2 separate regions of the Homo sapiens genome follow, and region 1 is linked to region 2. Evidence: promoter capture Hi-C in 16 types of primary human blood cells and fetal thymus (Javierre and others, 2016). All regions are on one chromosome and are shown on one strand. The core of a region is centred on a gene start or on the middle of the fragment in contact, and the rest is flanking DNA. Distances in the headings are between cores, read along the strand shown. Region 1 overlaps IKZF3 (IKAROS family zinc finger 3). Region 2 holds the start of IKZF3 (IKAROS family zinc finger 3).

The links. Contacts are between HindIII fragments. The CHiCAGO score rates a contact against its expected background, and 5 or more counts as called.
Region 1: a fragment that was not itself captured here is called in contact with the fragment with the promoter of IKZF3 in region 2 in 6 of 17 cell types (naive CD4 T cells, activated CD4 T cells, total CD8 T cells and 3 more); the score reaches 8.1 in naive CD4 T cells.

Annotation. Positions count from the first base shown.
Region 1 is chr17:39,788,808-39,795,793 of GRCh38, forward strand. IKZF3 (IKAROS family zinc finger 3) reads right to left here. Exons shown (of 8, transcript NM_012481.5): 4 at 3,866-4,126; 5 at 2,609-2,776. Among named protein-coding and RNA genes, the nearest start is that of GRB7, 54 kb to the left of the region's middle. RefSeq lists enhancers at 2,837-2,946, 4,044-4,173. The HindIII fragment of the contact is 5,694 bases long and covers 1-5,413 here.
Region 2 is chr17:39,859,624-39,866,727 of GRCh38, forward strand. IKZF3 (IKAROS family zinc finger 3) reads right to left here and starts at 4,689. Exons shown (of 8, transcript NM_012481.5): 1 at 4,497-4,689. The coding sequence starts at 4,503. RefSeq lists enhancers at 1,793-1,952, 4,311-4,430, 4,441-4,530, 5,258-5,327, 5,388-5,447. The HindIII fragment of the contact is 8,560 bases long and covers 2,568-7,104 here.

The DNA.
Region 1 (6,986 bases), core at 1,317-3,816, 73 kb before region 2:
CATTCGGCTAGAAACTGATGGCCTTTTCAGAACATTGACATATTTGGGTAAATTTAGCTCATCCTTGCCACGTGGCTATAGCAAAGTCTAGGCTAAAACAATAAAAACTGAGCTAATTAACTACGGATTTTTTTGTTTTTTTGTTTTTGAGACAGGGTCTCACTCTATCACCCAGGCTTGGGTGCAGTGGTGAAATCACAGCTCGCTACAGCCCCAATTTCATAGGCTCAGGTGAAGTCTGGGCCTCCCAAAGGCCACCTTGGCCTCCCAAAGTGAGAGGCTTACAGGTGTGAGCCATTGCACCCGGCCAGGATATTTTTGAATAATAGAAATAAAAATAGGCCGGGCGCAGTGGCTGACACCTGTAATCCCAGCACTTTGGGAGGCCGAAGTGGGAGGATCACCTGAGGTCAGGAGTTCGAGACCAGCCTGCCTAACATGGCAAAACCCCATCTCTACTAAAAATACAAAAATTAGCCAGGCACAGTGGCTCACGCCTGTAATCTCAGCACTTTCGGAGGCCGAGGCAGGCGGATCACGAGGTGAGGAGTTCGAGACCAGCCTGGCCAATGTGGTGAAACCCCATCTCTACTAAAAATACAAAAATTAGCCAGGCGTGATGGCGTGACCCTTTAGTCCCAGCTACTCAGGAGGCTGAGGCAGAAGAATCGCTTGAACCTGGGAGGTGGAGGTTGCAGTGGGCTGAGATTGCACCACTGCATCCCAGCCTGGGCGGCAGAGTGAGACTCCATCTCAAACAAACAAACAAAATTAGCCGGGCGTCGTGGTAGGCATCTATAATCCCAGCTACTAGGGAGGCTGAGGCAGGAGAATCGCTTGAACCTGGGAGGTAGAGGTTGCAGTGAGCTGAGATGGCGCCGCTGTACTCCAGCCTGGGTGACAGAGTGAGACACCATCTCAAACAAACAAACAAACAAACAAAATTAGCTGGGCGTTGTGGTAGGCATCTATAATCCCAGCTACTAGGGAGGCTGAGGCAGGAGAATCGCTTGAACCTGGGAGGCGGAGGTTGCAGTGAGCCAAGATCACGCCACTGCAACAGCCTAGGCAACAGAGCAAGACTCCGTCTCAAAAAAAAAAAAAAAAAGAGAGAAATAAAAATGAATTGTAAAAATGACTTCGTCTAAATGTCTAAGATGAAGGAAAGGTTTCACCCATACAATTCATGCAAACTTTATTCTGCCAACTCCCCAAATGCTTTATTGCTTGAAATATGTAAGTAATAACTTCAACTATCTGTGCAAGGCTGGTCTTTCTGATTGTTGATAGAATATACTCAATGAATTTGTCAGTTTTAGGGGCTAAAATTTTTATTTTCTAACTCTTGCTCTGTTTAAAACAGAGGCTTTGGGATTTAAAGCACTAAAAGATCCTTATGGAATCCTAAATTAAAACAAATGCAGGTTTGCTAGGGCTAAAAATGTTACGTTTCTGCATAAATTGGGTTCTCTGGAATCTGTCTTTAAAAAGCCTACTATTGTTTCTTACTTGAAAAAGGCAACAGTAGAGAACTATTCTAATTTTTTTCGAACCAAACTCATCCTTAATTCACTACTTTGAAAAATGAGCTGTAAAAGAGAGAAACCCTTCAATTGCCAATTATGATCTCTCATGGTGGGTTTTGTTGGGGCTGACTTGTTTAATCCTAGTGGCTGAATTATAACAAGTTTTGAGTTTGGGGCTAGGTTTTAATCAAAGCAGTAGATGTGAACTGACATAAAAACAAGCCTTTTTTTCCAATTAAAATTTTGCCAGATAACATCAAGAACATGAGGTCCCAAATTTGAAAATAAACTCAGTCTTATTTTTCTAGGACGGAAATTCTAAATCTTGAAAAAAAAGTATTATCTTGGTCAAAATAAGGAGTAAAAACATCACGACAGCACATAACTTTTACAAATCTTTACCGTTGTTCAATCTTTTAGAGATTTAAAATAAGTAGGCTGGCTGGGCATGGTGGCTCCTGCCTGTAATCCCAGCACTTTGGGAGGTCAAAGTGGGAGGAATGCCTGAGCTCAGAAGTTTGAGACCAGCCTGAGCAACATAGTGAGACCTCATGTTTATTTAAAAAAAAAAAAAAAAGTGGGCCAATCAAGAGGAAAGTTGGATTTAATAAATTTATCCCAAATGGCCAAAAAGTAGCCCCCAAACAATGATTTATATCCAGATCACAGTTTTTCATAATTTACAAACTGTACATCATTTGCTTGTCTCGTCTTTTGAATGGAAAGAGTGTGTGTGTTGGGAAAATAATCTTCTAATAAAGTTTACCAGAAGAAAATACTGATGGCTATAATTTTCTCACAAAAATTAAAAGGACATTTTTTATAGGGTGGGCTCTTCCTATCTGACTGTGTTGTTCTCCATGGGTGCAAGGATGGTGAGGAGATGATCATCTCCACTGAGGCAGACGGAGAGCAATTAGTGCCTTAATGGTCGTGTAATTAGCCCTAGAGGTCTCTGCTGTTGTAACCCTTCAGAACAAGAATGACAGATTGAAACCTTCCTACTTAACTCTTTCTAGTTTCCACACTGGGCTCTGAGGAATGCACTTCCTAGACAAGGAATGCTCATTTCTCTCACTTACCAGAATGTGTCCTAAGATGCCCCGTGAGCGCATCTCTTCTTTGGCATGCATAGTTGCAGAGGTGACACTTAAAAGGTTTTTCCCCTGTGTGCAGTTTAATGTGGCGGAGGAGGTTACCTTTCTGAGTAAAAGATGCCCCACACTGATTACACTGGAATGGGCGTTCACCTTTAAAAAGGACAAAAAAGGAGATTTCTGGTCACAGGCAAGTGGAGAAACATATGCACAGATTAGATGCCTAGGGGAAAAGCTCATCTTTTAGACAATTACTGTTCACATTGGGATCAGTTGGGAGCTGCATTTCAAGGCAAGCCTAAGACTTACTTATGAAATCTCCTCTGTAGAAGAGAAAAAGCACCCACTAGCAAGGCTATTTTAGGTATCATATTGAATCAGAGCAAAGAAACAAGAGCAGCTCTAGAAGTGCTTTCTAGATCTAAGTTTTTATATTACTATATTACTTGGTACTCCCTTTTTTTTTTTTTTTTTTTTTTAGACAGGGTCTTCTTGCTCTGTTGCTCAGGCTGGAGTGCAATGGTCCCATCATGGCTCACTGAAACCTTGACCTCCTGGGTTCAAGTGAGCCTGTCACCTCAGCCTTCAGAATAGCTGGGACTACCAGTGTTTGCCATTATGCCTGGCTAATTTTTTAGTATTCCTTTTGAATATAATCTCCTTTGAAAAAAGAGCCAGAAACTAAAGTCCTTACAAGGTGTTGAGGGCTAGAAATTCTCCTTTTTAAAGTCTTCATATGAGATATGGGATGGAATCGACTGGCTCAAGTGCGATGGTTGTGTTTGTATGCATTTCTATAGACTACCTGTTTATTGTCTGAAGATACATTATTTTAAGCTGGAAATAAAAACTATGTCCTTTCATTTACCAAATTTGAACCCAATACAATAAGAAGATCTGCTCTTATTAAAAATGTTATGCAAAAATATACAAAAGATGGCTAAGAAGCAAATCACACAATTCAACTCCTACTTAGAAACTGAAGAAAAAGTATTTGGCTGACCTAGAACACTGTGCTCTCTACAGTCTTTTTTTATTCATAGCATTTGCAATATGTTTGCCAAATGCATGGTGAGGCAGGAATAAAAAGCACTGAGTGAACAGCAATGCAGAGAGAGAGATACATCAGCATTATAGCAAAAATCAATGAAAGTAACCAAAAGTTCCAAATTCCACCACTTCATTTCTCACGTGGCTGCATTAGGAGAGTTTTCAGAAGAATGAAAAAAGCAGACTATTTACCAGTATGGCTTCGCTTATGAACCATTAAGACATTGAAGCTGATGCAGGATAATCCACACACATCGCAGTTCATCTTTCCACTGGTTGGCCTGCTACTATCGAATGAGACAACATGTCTCTCCAACTTAATGTTTTCATATTCATTATATTCTCTTGAATAGCTGTAAGGGATTTCAGGCTCTTCTGCATTTCCCATGGGTTCTGACTTTAAAACATTCTCATCTCTTTCACTGTATTCATCTTTCACTTTCATTGAATCATCTGCAGGGAAGAAAATGCAAGAAATGAACAACGACTATACTTGAAGCTATCAAAGCAGCTCAAACAGCAGAGACCCACAACTGACAATTAAATACCAATCGAAGCTAACAAAACACTGTACATCTACAAAACAAGAAAGCACCATTAGCGTGACCGCACGTTATTTAAATTCAGAACCACAGTCAGAGGAAAACACACATACTTACACACATAAAAATAGACGATAGTGTTTTAGGCTATCCAGAAAATTACAGATAATAGATTTTAGCTAAGTTTGCTCAAAGTGGCCATGAAACAAACATTGAGCAACTCTTCTCCAGTACTAGGGGAGAGGAAGGGTTCTCAGATCTAGTACTGTTTTTGGTGGCTGCAGTTAAAAAGGCAAGGTGATGTACTCTTAGGTTTCAAGGAGAAAATATTGTTTGAATCCTTCAGATGCATCCAGTGTAAGCCATTAAGATTAAGAGTTGACTAGTTAACATAGTTTTTCTAATTTTAAGCCATGCATTGCCTCTTCCCCTTCCACGTATATGAATTGCTAAAACACATCTTATCTCTGTCTCTCTTGGAGCTGATAAAGGCACAACATTGACTGTAGAGGAAGTTGTCAGTACTAATGAAAAAGTGTTGAGAAAGACAAAAGGAAAAGTAATTCTTTCATATAACCTAAGGAGTCACTTTCATCGACACAGGTAAGTGGGGCTCAATCTAAATAAGGGGAAGGACCATTAGGTCCCAAGTTAGGGAGAACTAAACTCAAGGACTCAAGGATTGTGTAATAGGACTGGATAGGAGAGGAGGGACTGGCTCAAGTGAGTTGGCTGACCAAGTACTATCTTAAGAACTGCAATGTAAATGAATGAAATTTAAAAGAAGAGCTGTAATACTCTTCATGAAGAGCATAAGAACATATGAAGAACGTGGGAAAAATATGAAGAACATAAGAAACAAAGAAGGCAAATTTATGTACTTGCACTGACACTAGTAAAACCTAAAAATTTGCCTGATGTAAGAATAATAAACATTTGTAAGGGATTTTGCATATATAAAATATGCTATATAAATGCTTACTTTTTCAACCATTGGTCCTTAGAAATCAAAAGTTGTACCTCCCCATGAGGAATCACAAATCAATGGAGTGTAGGGCTGGAAGGGAATTTAAAGGTCATCTAATCCAACCCTCTTGTTTCTCAGATGAGGAAATCTGGGAGCAGAGATGTTTTTGGTCATTTGTCGAAGGTTACACATCCAGTTACTGGCAGAGGTGTGATTAGAATGCAAAACTTAAGCTTGAACTATCAATTACTTGGATTTGACCTCATGCACTAGACATATAAGGCCTAAGTGGGTTCTTACCAACTGTATTACACACCCTCCCATCAATGGTGTAAATGTTAAAACCCAAAACAGTCTGAAAAAAGATATTTTAAAAAACTACATCCCTTCCAAAAAACATCAGTAAGTGTTGCTCCTCTTGCTGCATAGGAGGAAGTACAACTGCAGCTGTGCCTGGCTTGCTACCTTCAACCCAAGTTTCAATTTTCACTTCTATCAAGGTTACCTTTCATCTATATTAACTGTGTTTGCTTAATAGAGCAAGACAGGGCCTAACCACCATCAGAGGAGCCAGGGCTGCCACACAGTTCCACTGCTTCCTACCACAGTTCATGGTTCACAACTTTTCACTCTTTGACTAGCAAAGATGTAGGGCTGTAGGATAAGTCCAACATGTTTCAAATTTGCCCACCCTATGGATCTGGATTATATAAGAAATGATATCTGTTTCCTACTTGGAAAGAGGTTTACTTCTTTCTCTGGATAGGTCTTCCCTGCTTTCAAGTGGAATTTGTTTGCTTAAGTGTTTATTTTTTATTTTTTTAAGAGAAGGATGCACCTGAGGCTTGTACTTGCCTCCCTTCCTCCATCACTCCAGCTGTGGGTAATATCCCACCAAAGCTTGAGTGCTCTTCAGTTTGCATGTAGGCGTTTAAAAGAACCTCAACGGAAAATTTCAGCTACTTAAAACCAAAAACAGCAGATAGAAAAGGCCAGCAGAAAAGGATCCTTTCCATTTTGGTTAGAAAATGTGAACATGACCAGACTCAGGCCACTCCATGGTCACTGAACTTTAAAATGTAGTAAGATCAATGTGTTGAGTCTTTCTGAAAACAGAGGACATAAGAGAGCTGCTCCTTTCCCTCAGGATTTTGGCTTTAGTTGGCCTGACCTGGAATTCAATACGACACCATCCTGGCTCAAGAGCAGATCTTAGCTTTAGTCCTTTAGGAGTCAGCTATAGAGCAAGGAAGACAGTATTTGAGACCCAGGGACATAAGGACACAGGGACAGGGCATTAGAGAAGTCCTTTGGGCTTACATAGTTGCTGGTTTGCCTTTGGAGTCTTACCAGTTTTAGATGAATGACCTGGATGACCTCTCTGCATGGTTACTGGGGATTAGCAACTTATTTTTATTTTATTCTATTTTATTTTTTGAGACATAGTCTTGCTCTGTTGCCCAGCCTGGAGTGTAGTGGCACGATCAGCTCACTGCCACCTCTGCTTCCCAGGTTCAAGTGATTCTCCTGCCTCAGCCTCCCGAGTAGCTGGGATTACAGGCATGCACCACAATGCCTGGCTGATTTTTGTGTTTTTAGTAAAGACGGGGTTTCGCCATGTTGGCCAGGCTGGTCTCGAACTCCTGACCTCAAGTGATCCACCCTCCTTGGCCTCCCAAAGTGCTGGGATTACAGGCCTGAGCCACCGTGTCCAACCAGATTCTAATTTATTCTAATATTCAACTCTGTTACCTTCTCAAGGTAAGCCATAATAAATTGCTGGCTGGGCATAGTGGCTCATGCC
Region 2 (7,104 bases), core at 3,439-5,938:
AGCAATCTGCCCGCCTCAGCCTCCCAAAGTGCTAGGATTACAGGCGTGAGCCACCACTCCTGGCCTCATCCTTATAATTTCTAATTATCATAAATATACCAGTTAATATGGAGCTAAATTTAATAAAGGCTAAATAGCAGAGTACATTCTATGGCCTTGTGATGTGTAGGGTCTCTTTTCAAAATAATTAATGAATCCTTAGGACAAAAGACATTTATTGAGCACCTACTATAGGCAAGTTTCTGTGTTAATCACTCAGTTCTTCTCATACATGGTCTGGAACTATAGCTTGACATATGAGCCAATTATCATTGGACATCTATCTAGGCCAGGTGCAGTGGCTCACTCCTGTAATCCCAGCACTTGGGAAGGTTGAGGCGGAAGGATCACTTGTGGCCAAGAATTCAAGACCAACCTGACCAACATAGTGAGACCCCCATTTCTACAAAAAATGAAAGATAATAAATCAGCAGGTCATGGCGGTTTGTACAATAAATTACCAGGTTATGGTGGTGGATGCCTGTAGTCCTAGCTACTCAGAAGGTTGAGGCAGGAGGATCGTCTGAGCCTAGGAGTTTGTGGTAGCCTGGGCAACAGAGCAAGGACTATCTCTTTAAAAATAATAATAAAAAAAAAAAACTGGATGTCTGATAAAAGATCTACCAATAATCAATAATCTTTTAGTCCTAAATAAGTGTAAGTATATACATTTATATATGAATGAAAAGTTTATAACAATGTATTTTTAAAGTATCACTTGAAAGCGTATGCTATTTTTATGGCATCATCTATATCTTACTGACTGAGAAAACAAATTTCTGCTCATATTCAATGGATATTTTAATGGACTAATTGCGATCCTGAAATCTGCTTATGTAAATTTAACAGTTAAAATTTGGCTTTACACAAAAAAGAATGAAATCATATCCTTTGCAACAACATGGATGCAGCTGGAGGCCATTATTCTTAGTGAATTAACACAGAAACAGAAAACCAAATACCGCATGTTCTCACTTATGACGGGGAGCTAAACACTGGGTACACATGGACTGTTATGAATTAATGTGACCCCCAAATTAGACACTGATGACCCCAAAATGGGGAAGGGTGGGAGGAGGGCAAGGGTTGAAAAACTACCTATAGGACACTATGCTCATTATTTGGGTGACAGGATCAATAGAAGCCCAATCCTCAGCATCACATAATATACTTATGTAAGAAACCTGCACATGTACCCCCTAAATCTAATTTTGTTAAAATTGGCTTTAAGTGACAGTCTAGCAAAAAATATCCAATAACATTTTTGTTTTCCAAGCTTTCTTTTTCAATTATACAGTTTAAGTGCTTAAAAAATTACTGAGCTTTATCAAAGAATTACTAGCCCCAATCTCCTACTTTAAAAATTTATTTAAATAAAATGCATCACAATAAACATAATAAAAAGTACTTTTTCAGCACTATTTTAATTGAATGCAACAAATTCTGAGGGCCTTCTATGAACCAGAAACTGTCCTTCGCATTCAGTGTACAAAAACAAGACACAGTCTCTGTTCTCCAGAAGCTTAAAGACCAGAGGGGGAATAAACACCTACATCAATAAATAATTTCAACACAATGTGGTAGAAGTATACACAGAAAGGAGAGGCCCTTAGCTGAGGTGAAGGAACATGAGAGACTGGGTAGGGGTGATCACCAGAAGGCACTAGGAGGAGGTCATCAGAAGAAGGTCATCAGAGAGCCTTCATGGCGATGATGCCTGAGCAGAGTCTTGAAAGATGAGTAGGCATAAGCAAGTAGAGAATGGGTGAACATAATAGCAAAGACATGGAAGCATGAAATAGCATACTGGATTAAAGGAAGTACAAACAGGAATTTTGAAAAATTATGTTCTACCAGGACGCCACGGCCTTTCTGTGGCTTTTGTTTCTTAAAACCTTCGCATTTCATCCTCCATACGCTCACAATGGAGGGCAAACAGATTCCATCATCTACAGGCTTTATCTCTGTTAATCTCAGCCATCCAGAACATGGAAAGGGACCTGAAACAAAACCCTACTACCACAAAATCTATGTGGTAAGAAATATAAGCTGACATCAAGAAGGAGACAAAAATTGTACAATATCCTAGGTATGTTTGGTGTAGGGGCATTCAGCTCAAAACCCCTGTGAGAATATATTATGGAATAATATATGATCTGATGGTGAGAACAGTAACTCAGAGTTGCCGAGATAAACTTATCTCTTATGTACCTTGCTTATAAAGCAGGGAGCTGTGTAATAAATATACTTAGAAAAATCTTTACTCAATATTGTTAAAAATAAAAATGTTTTACATTAAATAAGAAGTCTGCCATTACCTGTGAAATTCATGTTTGTGAACCACCTCATTTCCCGACCATAACAGACAGAAGAGATGTTATAGTACAAATAATAAAATTTAGTGATTCATAAACAGTCTTTGGGTAGAAAATATTTAAGGTCACAGATTGTGAGAAAATTAAAAAGTTATAGCTTCTGATTTTAGTATATTCATTAAATCTTCATTTCTACAAGATTTCTATTTCAAAAGCTTATTCATCTGACATCTTCATACATAGAAAGTCTCAATAAATTAATTAAAAGATAAATGAATTTGTTAAATGACTTTATATGCTGAAGGAATGATATACAGTATTGCATTGTACAATAAACTGTTATGAATCAATGTGACCCCCAAATTGGGCAGAAAATAAAGGTATTCCATGAAGTATTCTACTTTCTTACATTGCCAAGAGAGGTATACACTATAGACCAAATCTCTAATCTAGACTGAGATCAAAACCACAAGATGATATAAAAATTTTTTAAATATCAAAAACATGGGCCAGATTAGTCTATTTTGGGTAGCTATAATGAACCAGATATTTTACCACATCAAATACTCTATACGCAAGGACCTGACATTAAAATAGCCAAATTCATATAATTAACCTCTTTTTAAAATTTAAATGTTAAAGTTTTTTCATTAAGCATAATCTATACTATCTATCTCCATGGACCTATAGATTTAATCTAATCATGTAAACACAACTTTAAAAAGTTATTGATCTACATTCTCTTTCCATTTATAGTCTACACACTCTAAATTAAATTCTACACAAGTTTTCATTCTTTTCTTCTTAAGGGAGTCTTCAGGCTTATTAAACATCTGTGTTAGTACACCAATAACCTAAGATATGCTATTTAGTTTCTTTATTGCACATTAAATAAATGAATTTGGAAGTATTAACATTTATAGAGAAATACTCCAGTTTCTATGGATTTACATGATTCTGTACATTATCCTTGATACGTGGTATGGTTACGGCTAGGAAAAATAGTGTTGGAGTACTGATTTATAATTTCATAAAAACAAATTAATCATTTGTAATAATTAAAGCATATGAGCTTTTCAAAAATTATTTTTCCCATAGTATACAACAGCCCAACTTTTTTTCCTTGTTATTGGCCAATAAAACCTTTGTTAAAAATTACACTTCAATAAACCATTATTTAAATGTTAAAAATGCAAAATTTTTAAAGTTTTCAAGCCCTAATTAAAAAAATTAAAAGCATAAAGTTTTTGATATTTTAACAACTTTATATACTCTAGAAATAAAGCTGCCAAAGATCAGTTCATTGTTAATTAGAGATTCTTCCATTATTATGAAGAAAATACCCACGATCTTCATATTTATCAAAGTAACATTTTAGTTAGGTGTCAATATCTCATTTTTAATAGAATGAAATTCTGAATTTCTTAATCCCACCATCCCCCCCCGAGTTGAGATGCATTTGCCATTTTCAAGGTTTTAGAAACACTTGTTGAAAAGACCATTGAAGAGTTTACAGTAGCAGTGTGAAATTTTAGGTATCCCAAGGAAGTACAGAATGAAAAATGTTTGAGAAGCAAGGATAGTGTTACGACTTTCAAAATTAATTCATATGAAACTCCTAATGTGAACCTGATTTTTTGCGCTGGGTAAAGAAGACTCATTAGAAGATCGAGTTCCAAGGGAACTGCAAATGCCAACCGCTTTAAAATGTACCTTTCCCATATGACACCATTTACCCTTGGAAGAAAACAAGTTACTCAGATTAGTCTAATTCCAATAAACACTGAGGCCATGAAGGAAAAAATATCCAAAAGGGTTGATTATTCCACCCCAGATTTGCAGCCATTTCAGGGACACCCCTTAAGTGCTCTTCCTCTGCAGATGTAGGGTAGACCCCCCATGTCTGACAACTCTTTAGAAATAAAATTGCGAAGAAGTTATCACTTTCCAAAGGGCGGGGGAAGGACAAGTGAGAGACGTTAAGAGAACCGACGCGCTTTGTCCTCTGAAATACCTCATATTTACTTTTGACAAAAGAAGTAAATAGAAGCAAAACTGAGATTCAGAAGAAACTCTTTCTACTGCTTGCACAGGTTAAGTTTCTCAAAGACCCCGGAGAAAAGAAGCGGGCTGGAGGCTCACCTTCCATGTCGCTGCCGGGCCGGGCTGGAGCTGCCGCTGTGGCTACTCGGCCTCTCCACGTGCTCCTGCCGTCGCCTGGACTCAGCGCGCAGCTGGCGGGAGATTCCCGGCGCGGGGAGTCCCCGGGATCCGGCAGCCGCGTCGGCGCAGACTGAAAAGGGCAGGAGCCGGCGACCTGCCGGTGCGCGGGGTTACAGCGGCGCTGGCTGGCGGCGGCTTTAAAGGACGCTGGCCGCGGAGTGCCGCGGGTTCCGCGCCTCCAGCCCCCTTTCGAATGTCAAACCCAAGGAACCCCGACAGGATGGAAATGTCGCATCACTAAATTGTCTCAAAATGTCTATTTTAGAAGGATAATGGATGAGAAAAGTGACATCACACGGAGGGTCGGGGGTCAGCCTTGCTTTCTTGGCAAGCTGAAGTTCAAAGACGTTTATCTTAAATTGAGGAAGATCTGGAACTTTTTGTCTAGATTCAGTGATAACAGCCGTGGAAAGTATCAATGAGAACCCCCTTCTTTCAAAGTATTTTTTTTTCCTTCCTCACTTTTTCATTTCACATGGTAAAAGTTTTTGGTCCAAGTTTTCAGACAGTTGGAAAGGATTTTGGCACTTCTATCAATTCAACTTTTTAATTTTTGGAAGCATTTATCTCACTTTTGTTTTCCCTCTGGGAACTGCTTGATTTATTTGCCACCACTCACGCAATACTACCCACTCTATATAAATAGAGGGAGTGTTTTATAGAGTGTGTTTATTTTCTCCCAGCCTGCCTTCTTCTAAATACACACCTTACAAAAATACATATATGATGTACCAGAAAATTAAGCAAAGAAAGTAGAGCTAAGGGTGGAAGGTGGGGGCAGTAAGATTGTAAAATTAACTTAAAGATGTTAGTATACAGATATGTATCAGTCAACATCTTCTCCCAACACCCTCCCTACTGTCCAGAGGTAAAGCACACATTTGACTGCAGAGAGAGGAAAGGGGAAGTGACCACAAAACTGTTTTTCAAAGCAGAACTTTTCTTCACATTGAGGTCTAAGGGACATTGTTCAGGTGAGCCCTTCTAAAGATATCCAGCGTGTGGGACAATATACGAATGAGTCTCAAAAGGCCACTGTCACCGCTATTAGAAAATTATATTAGTGCATACAAATATATTTGAGACTTAAGGCTGAGGGTTTGTGCATCAGCTGTCCATATCAGAAGAAACCCACACTTACAAGTTAAAGTATACATGCTGTAATTTTATGAATTGTAGCTTTAAACAATAGTATGTCGTTGGTATAGGCAGTCTATGTGATGTGTGTATATATATTCAAGTGGGTGAAAAACTACACTGGCTTTAAGCACCACAGTAGCATCTCTATAACTGTATGAGTTGGGAGTTCTGCAGGATGTCAATTTTGGAGAAATACTCTAAACACTAGGTCTAATTTTAGTACTGAAAGGGGAAATTTGTTGTTTGTTAGTTTCTAAAAGCAAAAATAGCACATCAAAAGTAGCAGAAGAGGAACTGTAAAATTTCACAGGGATGGTATGAGGATGAAAAGTTATTTGGTTATGAAAAAGTTGTAGGCCAGGCGCAGTGGCTCACGCCTGTAATCCCAGCACTTTGGGAGGCCAAGGCAGGTGGATCACGAGGTCAGGAGTTCGAGACCAGCCTGGCCAACATGGCAAAATACTGTCTCTACTAAAAATACAAAAATTAGCTGGGCGTGGTGGCGCATGCCTCTAATCCTAGCTACTCAGGAGGCTGAGGCAGGAGAATCGCTTGAACCCAGCAGGCAGAGGTTGCAGTGAGCCGAGATCTTGCCACTGAACTCCAGCCTGGGCAACAGAGTGAGACTTCGTCTCAAAAAAAAAAAAAAAAAGTTGTAAGGAAACTTTATGATTTTCCATTACAATGTTCTTCTGTATATTTGACAGTGGAACGTGTTAGTACTCTGTAAATAGTTCAATACTGAGTATTTCGGACTCCCGAGAGTGATACCTAAGGGGATTAAAAGTGAATTGGTAAAATAACTTATGTAGCTACTCCACCTTCAAGGAGATGCAGCATAAATCCCCACTCTTTAAGTGTGGGTGCACAAAGTGACTTCCTTCCGAAGAGTATAGTATGAAAGCAGGGGAATAAGTTGACAGTGGAGAAACCTGACAAACAGTACCTCAGCCAGCAGACCAAGGTTAACATCAAGTGATAAGGCATGTTGATAGTATGTCCCCTTGATATGATGTGATGAGAATGTCATTTTATCTCTGTAATCTTCCTCCTAAGAATCCATAATTCTAGTCTAATATGGAGAAAGACACCAAATTCCAGTAGAGAGGCATTCTACAAAATACCTCACCAATTAAAGCCAGGTCAAGACCTTCAAACACAAGAAAAGTCTGACACAGCCAAGGGGAATCTAAGGAGATACGATGACTATAGGTAATGTGGGATCCCGCATGAGATCCTGGAGCAAAAAAACAAACGAGGTAGGGAGGACATTGAGTAAAAAACTAAGGAAATCTGAATAAAGTTTGGACTTCAGTTAATAGTAATATATCAATATCCGTTCATTAATTGTAAGAAATGTACCATACCAATGTAAGATGTCAATAAT